Regions from separate parts of the Homo sapiens genome. Here region 1 is linked to region 2. Evidence: promoter capture Hi-C in 16 types of primary human blood cells and fetal thymus (Javierre and others, 2016). All regions are on one chromosome and are shown on one strand. Each heading gives the region's core, a stretch centred on a gene start or on the middle of the fragment in contact. The rest is flanking DNA. Distances are from core to core; before and after follow the strand shown.

Region 1 (4,705 bases), core at 1,531-4,030, 550 kb after region 2:
CAGTGGTGTGATCTCAGTTCACTGTAACCTCCTCCTCCCTGGGTTCAAGCGATTCCCGTGCCTCAGCCTCCCAAGTAGCTGGAATTATAGGTGCATGCCACCAAGCCTGGCTAATTTTTGTATTTTTAGTAGAGAAAGGGTTTTGCCATGTTGGCCAGGCTGGTCTCGAACTCCTGACCTCAGGCGATCCACTCGACTTGGCCTCCCAAAGTGTTGAGATCACAGGTGTGAGGTCAGGTTGTGTTTTTTTTTTTTTTTTTTTTGAGAGGGAGTCTTACTCTTATTGCCCAGGCTGGAGTGCAGTGGCGTGATCTCGGCTCACTGCAACCCCCATCTCCTGGGTTCAAGCGATTCTCCTGCCTCAGCCTCCTGAGTAGCTGGGATCACAGGCATGCGCCACCACGCCTGGCTAATTTTTTGTATTTTTATTAGAGACCGGGTTTCTCCATGTTGGTCAGGCTGGTCTCCAACTCCTGACCTCAAGTGATCTGCCTGCCTCCGCCTCCCAAAGTGCTGGGATTACAGGTGTGAGCCACCACACCCGGCTGATTATGCTGCTTTTTAGATGAGACGATAGTTTTTATTTTTAAATCATTTTTATTTATTAATTTTTTTGAGATGGAGTCTCGCTCTGTTACCCAGGCTGGAGTGCAGTGTTGTGATCTTGGCTCACTGCCTCCTCCACCTCCTGAGTTCAAGCAATTCTCCTGCCTCAGCCTCTGGAGTAGCTGGGACTGCGGGTGTGTGCTACCACTCCTGGCTAATTTTTGTATTTTTAATAGAGATGGGGTTTTGTCATGTTGACCAGGCTGGTCTCTAACTGCTGACCTCAAGTGATCCTCCCGCCTCTGTCTCCCAAAGTGTTGGGATTACAGGTGTGAGCCACCGTGTCTGGCCGAGATGATACTTCTAAAATAAGGCCCTTTGTTACCTGCGGTGGGCCGCGCTCTCCTCCTCTGTAGAATGAAGGCTTCGGTGTTTCTCAGCTTCTGTTAAACCTGTGCCTACTTTTGAGAAACATGAGCGCTCCAGTCTCCCCCGCTCAGTATTTTGATATGTCCTCCGAGGGGTTTTATGCCTCTTTGTTGGAAGGTGATGTGATTTTGGTTCTTTCGAAGGTGGTTTTTGTGTGCAGAAAAGACTCTTTAGGGAATCGTTGTGGGGAAAGGGCAGGAGAGAGTGGGGCGTCGTCCTTGAGAGCGTGAGCACTGGAGTCAGGGACTTGGGCTGAGTCACACACATGTAATATACTTGTGAACCGTTTAGATCCTGGGCAGAAGCAAGACATGTTGGGAGGCTAGGGTTTCCTTTTTTTAAAATTTAATTTTGTTCATACTTCTCTATCCATGTGTATTTTTGAAGTCTGTAGAGGTGGGGTTGTGATGTCCAGGATAGCCCCCGACACACAGTCCTCCTCCTCTCCGTGCAGGTGAGAAGCTTGCCATTAGAATTTCACAGAGGTCTTATAGCAATGTCACTTTAATCTTAGTGTCACCTGGGAGGGTTTTACTGCCACGATCTCTGCAGTCAGGCTTTGGTGACCTGAAGGTTATGCAGTTTTGGGCTTCCTATTTAAGAAAAAGAAAACAAAATTAAAAATGCAAAATTAGATAGAGGGCCATGGAAGGGGCCTGAAGCTGAACCCCATTAGCTCATGGTACAGCTGCCTCTGGCCATGGGGACCATGGCCAAATCCCCTCAGGAAGTGTCAGCCCACTGATGGGGACAGTGGAGGTGTGTATCGAGGCATCTTTTTCTTATTTGATACAGAGAGCTCATTTAATCTCCCTAACCTTTAAAAAAATTAGACTTTTTATTTGAGACTATAGTAGTTGTAGCTCCATGTGCATTTGTCAGAAATAATACTGAGGGATCCTATATACCTTTTGCCCAGTTTCCCCCCGTGGTGCCATGTTACAAAACCACAGTATGTTATCACAACCAGAATGTTGACTTGCTGACACCTTGAGGTATGTGTTACTATCCTCATTTTTATTCACAATGAAACTAGGGTTCAGGGAAGCACACAGGCTTGCTCCAGGTCACCCAGATCGTGCGTGTAGAGCTGGGAGTTGAATATCGGCCCTGACTTCCAGGCAGTGGGATTTCCATCATGACCGTCTGTAGGCTGGGGGCAGCATTCATTGGATTGTTCATTTGTTTGTTTGTTCACTAATCCCTTCAACAAACATGTATTGAGGATCTCCTATGAGCCAGATTCTTTCACGTGGGTCATCTAATTTAATTTTTCCCCAGCTCTGGGGAATCAGGTAATAACGTTTTCTTTTTATATCTGACAAAATTGGCTCAGAGAGGTTATGGCAACTCTCCCATTTATAAAGGAAAGGTGGTATATTTGTGTAATCTCTCCTTTTATGTTAGGCACAATGCTAGGCCCTTTACATTCGCAACCTCCTCAATCTAGATACAGTTTTATAAGGCAAGTTCTTTTTCTTTTAATTCTTTTTTTTTTTTTTTTTTTTTGAGATGCAGTCTGGCTCTGTCGCCCAGGCTGGAGTGCAGTGGCGCCATCTGGGCTCACTGCAAGCTCTGCCTCCCTGGTTCATGCCATTCTCCTGCCTCAGCCTCCCAAGTAGCTGGGACTACAGGTGCCTGCCACCACGCCGGGCTAATTTTTTGTATTTTTAGTAAAGATGGGGTTTCACCATGTTAGCCAGGATGATCTCGATCTTCTGACCTTGTGATCTGCCTGCCTCAGCTTCCCAAAGTGCTGGGATTACAGGTGTGAGCCACTGCGCCCCGCCTCTTTTTTTTTTTTTTTTGAGACGGAGTCTCACTCTGTCACCCAGGCTGGAGTGCAGTGGCGCAATCTTGGCTCACTGCAGCTTTCACCTCCCGGGTTCCAGTGATTTTCCTGCCTCAGCCTCCTGGGTAACTGGGATTACAGGCACGTGCCACCACACCCGGCTAATTTTTGTATTTTTAGTATAGGTGGGGTTTCACCATGTTGGCCAGGCTGGTCTCGAATTCCTGACCTCAAGTGATCCGCCAGCTTCGGCCTTCCAAAGTGTTAGGATTACAGGCATGAGCCACCATGCCCGGCCAAGACAAGTTCTATTATCACCACTATTTTGTAGCTGAGGAGTTCCAGGGAGCCCGGAATTCAAATCCAGATGTGATTGCATGGTGGATTTTTCTTAATATCCTGTTGAGGGGATGGGGGAGCAATTACACACGTGTTTATTCATTCACTCAACAGACATTTTTGAGCACTGACTCTTACTACTCCTGGTTAGGTGGTGAGAATAGAAAGACAAGAAACAGCCCCATTTCTGTAGAAGCTCCATGCTGAGGCCAAGGGACTGAAGGTCAACAGTTACAGCATTATGATCAGAGCTGCGACAGCCACGTGTAGAGCCCTAAGACCTGTTGATGCCACGGCTTTCCTTGGGGCTTCCCCTGCCTCTGGGTAGTGAAGGTCACAGTCACTGCCTCCCAGGGTAGGCTCTCAGCACTCAGGACTCTGTGTCTCACAGCCTCATTTCTTCTCTCTGAACAGGGACTTCAAAATGAGCGTCCCTGACTACATGCAGTGTGCTGAGGACCACCAGACGCTGCTCGTGGTGGTCCAGCCTGTGGGCATCGTCTCCGAGGAGAACTTCTTCAGGATCTATAAGAGGATTTGCTCTGTGAGTCAGATCAGCGTGCGGGACTCCCAGCGAGTCCTCTACATCCGCTACAGGCACCACTACCCACCCGAGAACAACGAGTGGGGTGACTTCCAGACCCACCGCAAAGTCGTGGGCCTCATCACCATCACAGACTGCTTCTCGGCCAAGGACTGGCCACAGACCTTTGAGAAGTTCCACGTGCAGAAGGAGATCTACGGCTCCACACTGTATGACTCCCGGCTCTTTGTCTTCGGGCTGCAGGGGGAGATCGTGGAGCAGCCGCGCACCGACGTGGCTTTCTACCCCAACTACGAGGACTGCCAGACGGTGGAGAAGAGAATCGAGGACTTCATCGAGTCACTGTTCATCGTGCTGGAGTCCAAGCGTCTGGACAGAGCCACAGACAAGTCTGGGGATAAGATCCCCCTTCTCTGTGTCCCGTTTGAGAAAAAGGACTTTGTAGGACTGGACACAGACAGCAGGTAAGCTTACCTAGAGACCCAGGCCCCTTGGCTTCCCTGCATCAGAAAGGGAAAGCACAGGGCAGAATTTCATTGCAGCAAGGAGTAGAAAGGTGTTGTCCATTGGTTTTTAAAACTAATGACTTTCTGTCAGAATCTGTTTGAGTGCTGCTAAAAAAACCAACCAAACAAAAACCAGTGACTTTTAAAGACAGAGACAGCCTTTGGTTGGGGGAGTCCTTTAGAGTTGTCTTGTACACTCCCCTCTTTTTAGTGGGGCTCCCCTCGTGGGACTCCTGGAGCTCTGTCCCATACAGCAGCCACAGCCAGTTGTGGCTTTTGGGCACTAGACACGAGGCTAGTTTTAGTTGAGATGGGCTGTGAATAAAACCCACGCCAGATTTTGAGACTTACTTCTGAAAAAATAAACTTTCTTGCTAATTTTTTTTTGAGACAGAGTCTTACTCTGTCTCTCAGGCTGGAGTGCAGTGGCGCGATCTTGGCTCAGTGCAACGTGCACCTCCCGGGTTCAAGTGATTCTCATGCCTCAGCCTCCCAAGTAGCTGGGACTACAGGCAGGTGCCACCATGCCTGGCTAAGTTTTGTATCTTT
Region 2 (4,497 bases), core at 1,830-4,329:
TTGCATACCCCTCCATCATCATGCAAATTATTAGTAATCGATAAAGCAATGCTATAGTCGATCAATAACACTTATATATGCTAAGCACCCTGCTGTTTTATGAGAATGGTTTGTTTCCTCTACAACCTAATTTTTTTTTTTGAGATGGAGTCTTGCTCTGTCACCCAGGCTGGAGTGCAGTGGCGCCATCTCCACCCACTGCAAGCTCTGCCTCCCGGGTTCACGCCGTTCTCCTGCCTCAGCCTCCCGAATAGCCGGGACTACAGGCGCCCGCCACCACGCTGGCTAATTTTTTTGTATTTTTAGTAGAGACGGGGTTTCACCTTGTTAGCCAGGATGGTCTCAATCTCCTGACCTCATGATCCACCCGCCTTGGCCTCCCACAGTGCTGGGATTACAGGTGTGAGCCACCGTGCCCGGCCTCTCTACAGCCTAATTCTAATGTACATCCTTTAGAGCCTCCATTTCACAGATGAGAAATTGAGGCTCAGAGACATTATACAACCTTCACAGGTTTATTGGTGAATGGTTAAACTTAAGCCTGGGTCTGTGCCAATGTTCATCTTACTCCTAAACCTGAGTTCTCAGGCACCACAAAGTGTGCCCAAGAGGTAAGACAAGCCACTGTTTCCTAGGTTTGTCCCTTTTCCCGTTTGTATCTCTGTTTGCCCTTCTCCTTTGCATCACTTCTTCCCGCCGTTTTCTGATTTCTTCTTTTACTAAGCATAATAATAACCAAAGCTGCCCTTCAAGAACGTCAATTTCAAATGTATCGTGGCAGAGTCCAGGAAACAATATTGTGTAACACACTACCCTAAAACCTAAAGGCTTAAAACCACATGTATTTTATTGGCTCACAATTCTGTGGTTTGGCAATTTGGGTTGGATTCAGCTGGGCAGTTCTTCCATCAGTCTCTCCAGGTCTTATGTATGCTTCACAGGGGCTGGGTGGTCTAGTACAGCTCACTCACATGTCTGGAGGTGGCACCTTGTTGGCCAGGGTGCCTCAGTTCTCTTCCACACGGCCTCCTCGTGAGGCTAGCTTGGGCTTAAGGGGGGAAAATGAAAGCAGCATGGCCTCTTGAGGCCTAGGCTTGGAATTTGTACAATGTCACTTGTGACACATCCCATTGGTCAAAGCAAGTTACAAGATCCCATCCACATTCAAGGGGTGAATAAATTCCACCTCTTCTTGGGAAAAGTGTCAAAGAATTGATGGCCATTTTTAGTCTACTATGCTAAGTGCAGCCCCTTCCCCCAAAGTTATCCTTAATGCAGTCCCTTTGTGCCTCCACTCTCCTCTTTTAATTCCCATGCTTTTCTTATCCTTTTAATAATAAGCTCTCACTTCACATCACCCAAAGCTTCGTTCATTCACTTGACAAATACTTACTGTGTGCCAGGACCTATTAGTGAACAAAACAAAGCCCGTGCTCTAATGAATCTAAGATTCTAGTGGAGAGAGCGGACAATCAAGAAATAAACAAGAACACAGTGTTGGGCTATGGTGAACAATAGGTGCTTTGGAGAACAACAGAGCAGACTAAGTGCGGACTGTGTGTGAGGATAGCAGGGCAGTGGGTGGTTCCTATTATATGAAGTGGTCGGCTGTATCAATGAGGTGATATATAAGCAGGGTATTGAACGAAGTGAGGAGCAAGAAGTTCCAGGCAGAGCAAATAGCACGCGCAAAGGCCTGAGGCTGGCATGGAGAGGCAATTCCTTACAATTTCATATGTAGTAAAAAGTAACAAAACCCAGAAAAACACCAACCTTAATACATCTCATTAAAGAACAATACAACCCAAACATTTAAATATGGTAAAATCTTGATAAGCAAAAGCTTTTTATTTTACTTCATTTTTACTTTTATAAAAGCTCCTAATGCAATGACGTGTGTCACCTCTCTGGGCTTCAGGGTGTTCACCTTTCAAAAGGCCTCGGTGCCTGTCTGTCCTGCTTCCTGGCTTGTGGTTAGCATCAAAATGACACCATAAAAATGAAAGTTGCAGCCTTGAGGGTTCTTCTGGTTTCATTTCCGACCACAAGGTTGCCAGAGTGACTTTTTTTTTTTTTTAAATAACACAAATCAGTTATCACTTCCTGCTTAAAGCCCTCCAAAGGTTCCCTGTTGCCTAAAGAATAAACTCCAGGCACCTAAGCAAGCCCCACGCAGCCGTCTGCATTTTTCAATCCCTCCAACCTCGCCTTTTGCTATTTCCCCCACCCCACCTACGGCACGTTCCGGTCATAACCAACTAGCTCCTCGCTGAAACTGGCTCACACCGCGGAAGCCCGGGTCGGTGTCGGGGCGAGCCTTCCCTCCTTTTCCTGGAGCCCGTCTCAGGTCTGTAGCCCTCGGGAGGGATTGCAGGGCTCGTTCCCTGCTGGCGTTCATTTAGGTAACCTGTCTACCTCCAGTGGACTTCTAAGTCCCTTTCATGATTTTTCATCTTCCAAAATCAAATAATGGCCCAGCCCAACTTAGCTATAATGCCATGAAAAGAATCTCTGAGCCTCAGTTTCCTTGTCTGCAAAAAGGGCCCAGGAACCGCTCGTTAGGGTCGGTGTGGTGCCTGGAGAGTGCACTGCAAGGCCCGGGGCCCGCAGCGGGTGCCCGACAGCGGGCGTCCAACTCTGGGGGCGGGGCCGCAGGGCCGCTCAGGAGGGAGGTTCTCCAGAGGGGACCCCTTCGGGATTTGGGGGCAGGGAAGGAGATGGGGAGGACTTTCCCGAAGTCCGTCTAATCCCGCTGGCGGAGAGCGAGGCAGGTGGGACCCCAGGATGTCCGCTCGGCGGGGCGACCCCGGCCACCCCCGAGACCAGGGCTTTCCTCGTCCGGCCGCCACGCCCGCGCGCAGCCTCGGGCCACCCCGAAACCCCGGCGCGGTCACTACAGGACAAATTACGCGAGCAGAGCCTAGCGGCGCGCTGGGCATGCGCGGGGGCGGCGCGCATGCCCAGTCCCCCCGAGAGGCGGGAACTCCGGACTGAGACCGGGTCGGGCGTGCGCTGCCGAGAGAGGACGCGCGCCTCAGCCGGCTGCCGCGCACGCGCGCGGGCCCGCGCCGACGCAGCACGGCCTCGAGGGCGCGAGCCCGCGCCGCCGCCGCCGCCGCCGGTCCCGGACCACTGTGAGCCCGCGGCGTGAGGCGTGGGAGGAAGCGCGGCTGCTGTCGCCCAGCGCCGCCCCGTCGTCGTCTGCCTTCGCTTCACGGCGCCGAGCCGCGGTCCGAGTGAGTGCGGGGCGCCGGGCGCGGGGCGCGGGTCGGGGGCTGGGCGGGCTCCTTCTGTGCAGCGGTCGTGGGCTGGGCCGCGGCCCTGAGGGCGGAGGGGCAGAGCGGGGCCGCCCAACCAGTCCCGGGGCGGATGCGGCGGAGACCGGCCCCTCCCGCGCCCCCGGCCCGGGTTCTGGGAGGAGGGGAGGCCGGTGGCCGTGAGGAGGTTGGGGGCCCTCGCGGAGGCCGAGAGGCTTAAGGAGGTCAGGGGGCGCGCTGGGAGGCGGGGGTTCGGGGCGCTGGGTGGTCGGGAGGCTTGGGGAAGACTGGGAGGCTGAGGGACGTGGGGAGGCCGGGAGCTCGAGGAGGTCGGGGGTTTTGGGGGCGCGCGGGGAGGCCAAGGGGTTCGGGGAAGACAGAAAGGCTGGGGGACGTGGGGAGTCCGGGAGACGTGAGGAGGAAGGGGGGGGCGGCTTTCGAAAAGGCCGGGCGCGCGGAGAGGCCGAGGGGCCTGAGGAAGACGAGGAGGCCGGGGCTCTGGGGGCGCGCAGGGCGGACAGAGGCGCGGGGAGGACGGGCCGGCCTCCGCCGGAGCGGACCCAATGCCTGAAAAACAAAAGGGGAGAGGCAGGAGGAGGAAGAGGGAAATCGCAGGGACGTCGGCAGGGTTCGCCCGGACGCGAGAGGGAGGCTCGCGACGGCCCGACCTCCGTCCCCCGGGCGCGGCCTCGCGGGCAGCCAAGGGTGGGCTCCGAGCGGCCTGCCGGTGCCCGAGCCCCAAGCCCGCCGTGTCCCCGAACGCAAACCCTCAAGTTTGGTAGAGCCCCGTGGGCTTCTTGGCGGGAGCCCTGGAGCCCTCACTGAAGTCCTCACTGGAGTCATTGTGCTTCCCAAGTTTTCTCCTCTTCCCCGCCCCCAGCCCCCGACTCTGCCGCGGTGGCTTAGGCGCAACTGTTTGCCGAATTTCTCTCTGGGTTCCTTGTGTAGCGGCATCCTGTTCTTTCTTAGAAGAAGGGGTGTGTGTGTGTGTGTGTGTGTGTGTGTGTGTGTGTGTGAATTGGTTTCATTTAATTGCAGAATTTTGTAGCTAAATTCAGTGAGGGTAAAGTTTCTTTTTTTTTTTTTTTCCGAGTCATTTCAACAGTGTCTCATTCTTGCATAGTTAGCCTGCAGCTGGGTTTTTGGCAATGAGACTAAGATAATAGTAATATTGTAGTAATTATGGGAACTGGTTATACATTCAAGCTGAAAGCTGAAGGCAGTGCAAGAGTTTGGGGAT

The links. Contacts are between HindIII fragments. The CHiCAGO score rates a contact against its expected background, and 5 or more counts as called.
Region 1: a fragment that was not itself captured here is called in contact with the fragment with the promoter of PTK2 in region 2 in 1 of 17 cell types (erythroblasts); the score reaches 5.5 in erythroblasts.

The regions. Positions count from the first base shown.
Region 1 is chr8:140,450,199-140,454,903 of GRCh38, reverse strand. TRAPPC9 (trafficking protein particle complex subunit 9) reads left to right here. Exons shown (of 23, transcript NM_001160372.4): 2 at 3,521-4,114. The coding sequence starts at 3,531. Among named protein-coding and RNA genes, the nearest start is that of TRAPPC9, 5.2 kb to the left of the region's middle. The HindIII fragment of the contact is 2,682 bases long and covers 1,440-4,121 here.
Region 2 is chr8:140,999,864-141,004,360 of GRCh38, reverse strand. PTK2 (protein tyrosine kinase 2) reads left to right here and starts at 3,079. Exons shown (of 36, transcript NM_001352702.2): 1 at 3,079-3,236. RefSeq lists silencers at 2,645-3,064, 3,085-3,414. The HindIII fragment of the contact is 6,005 bases long and covers 1,846-4,497 here.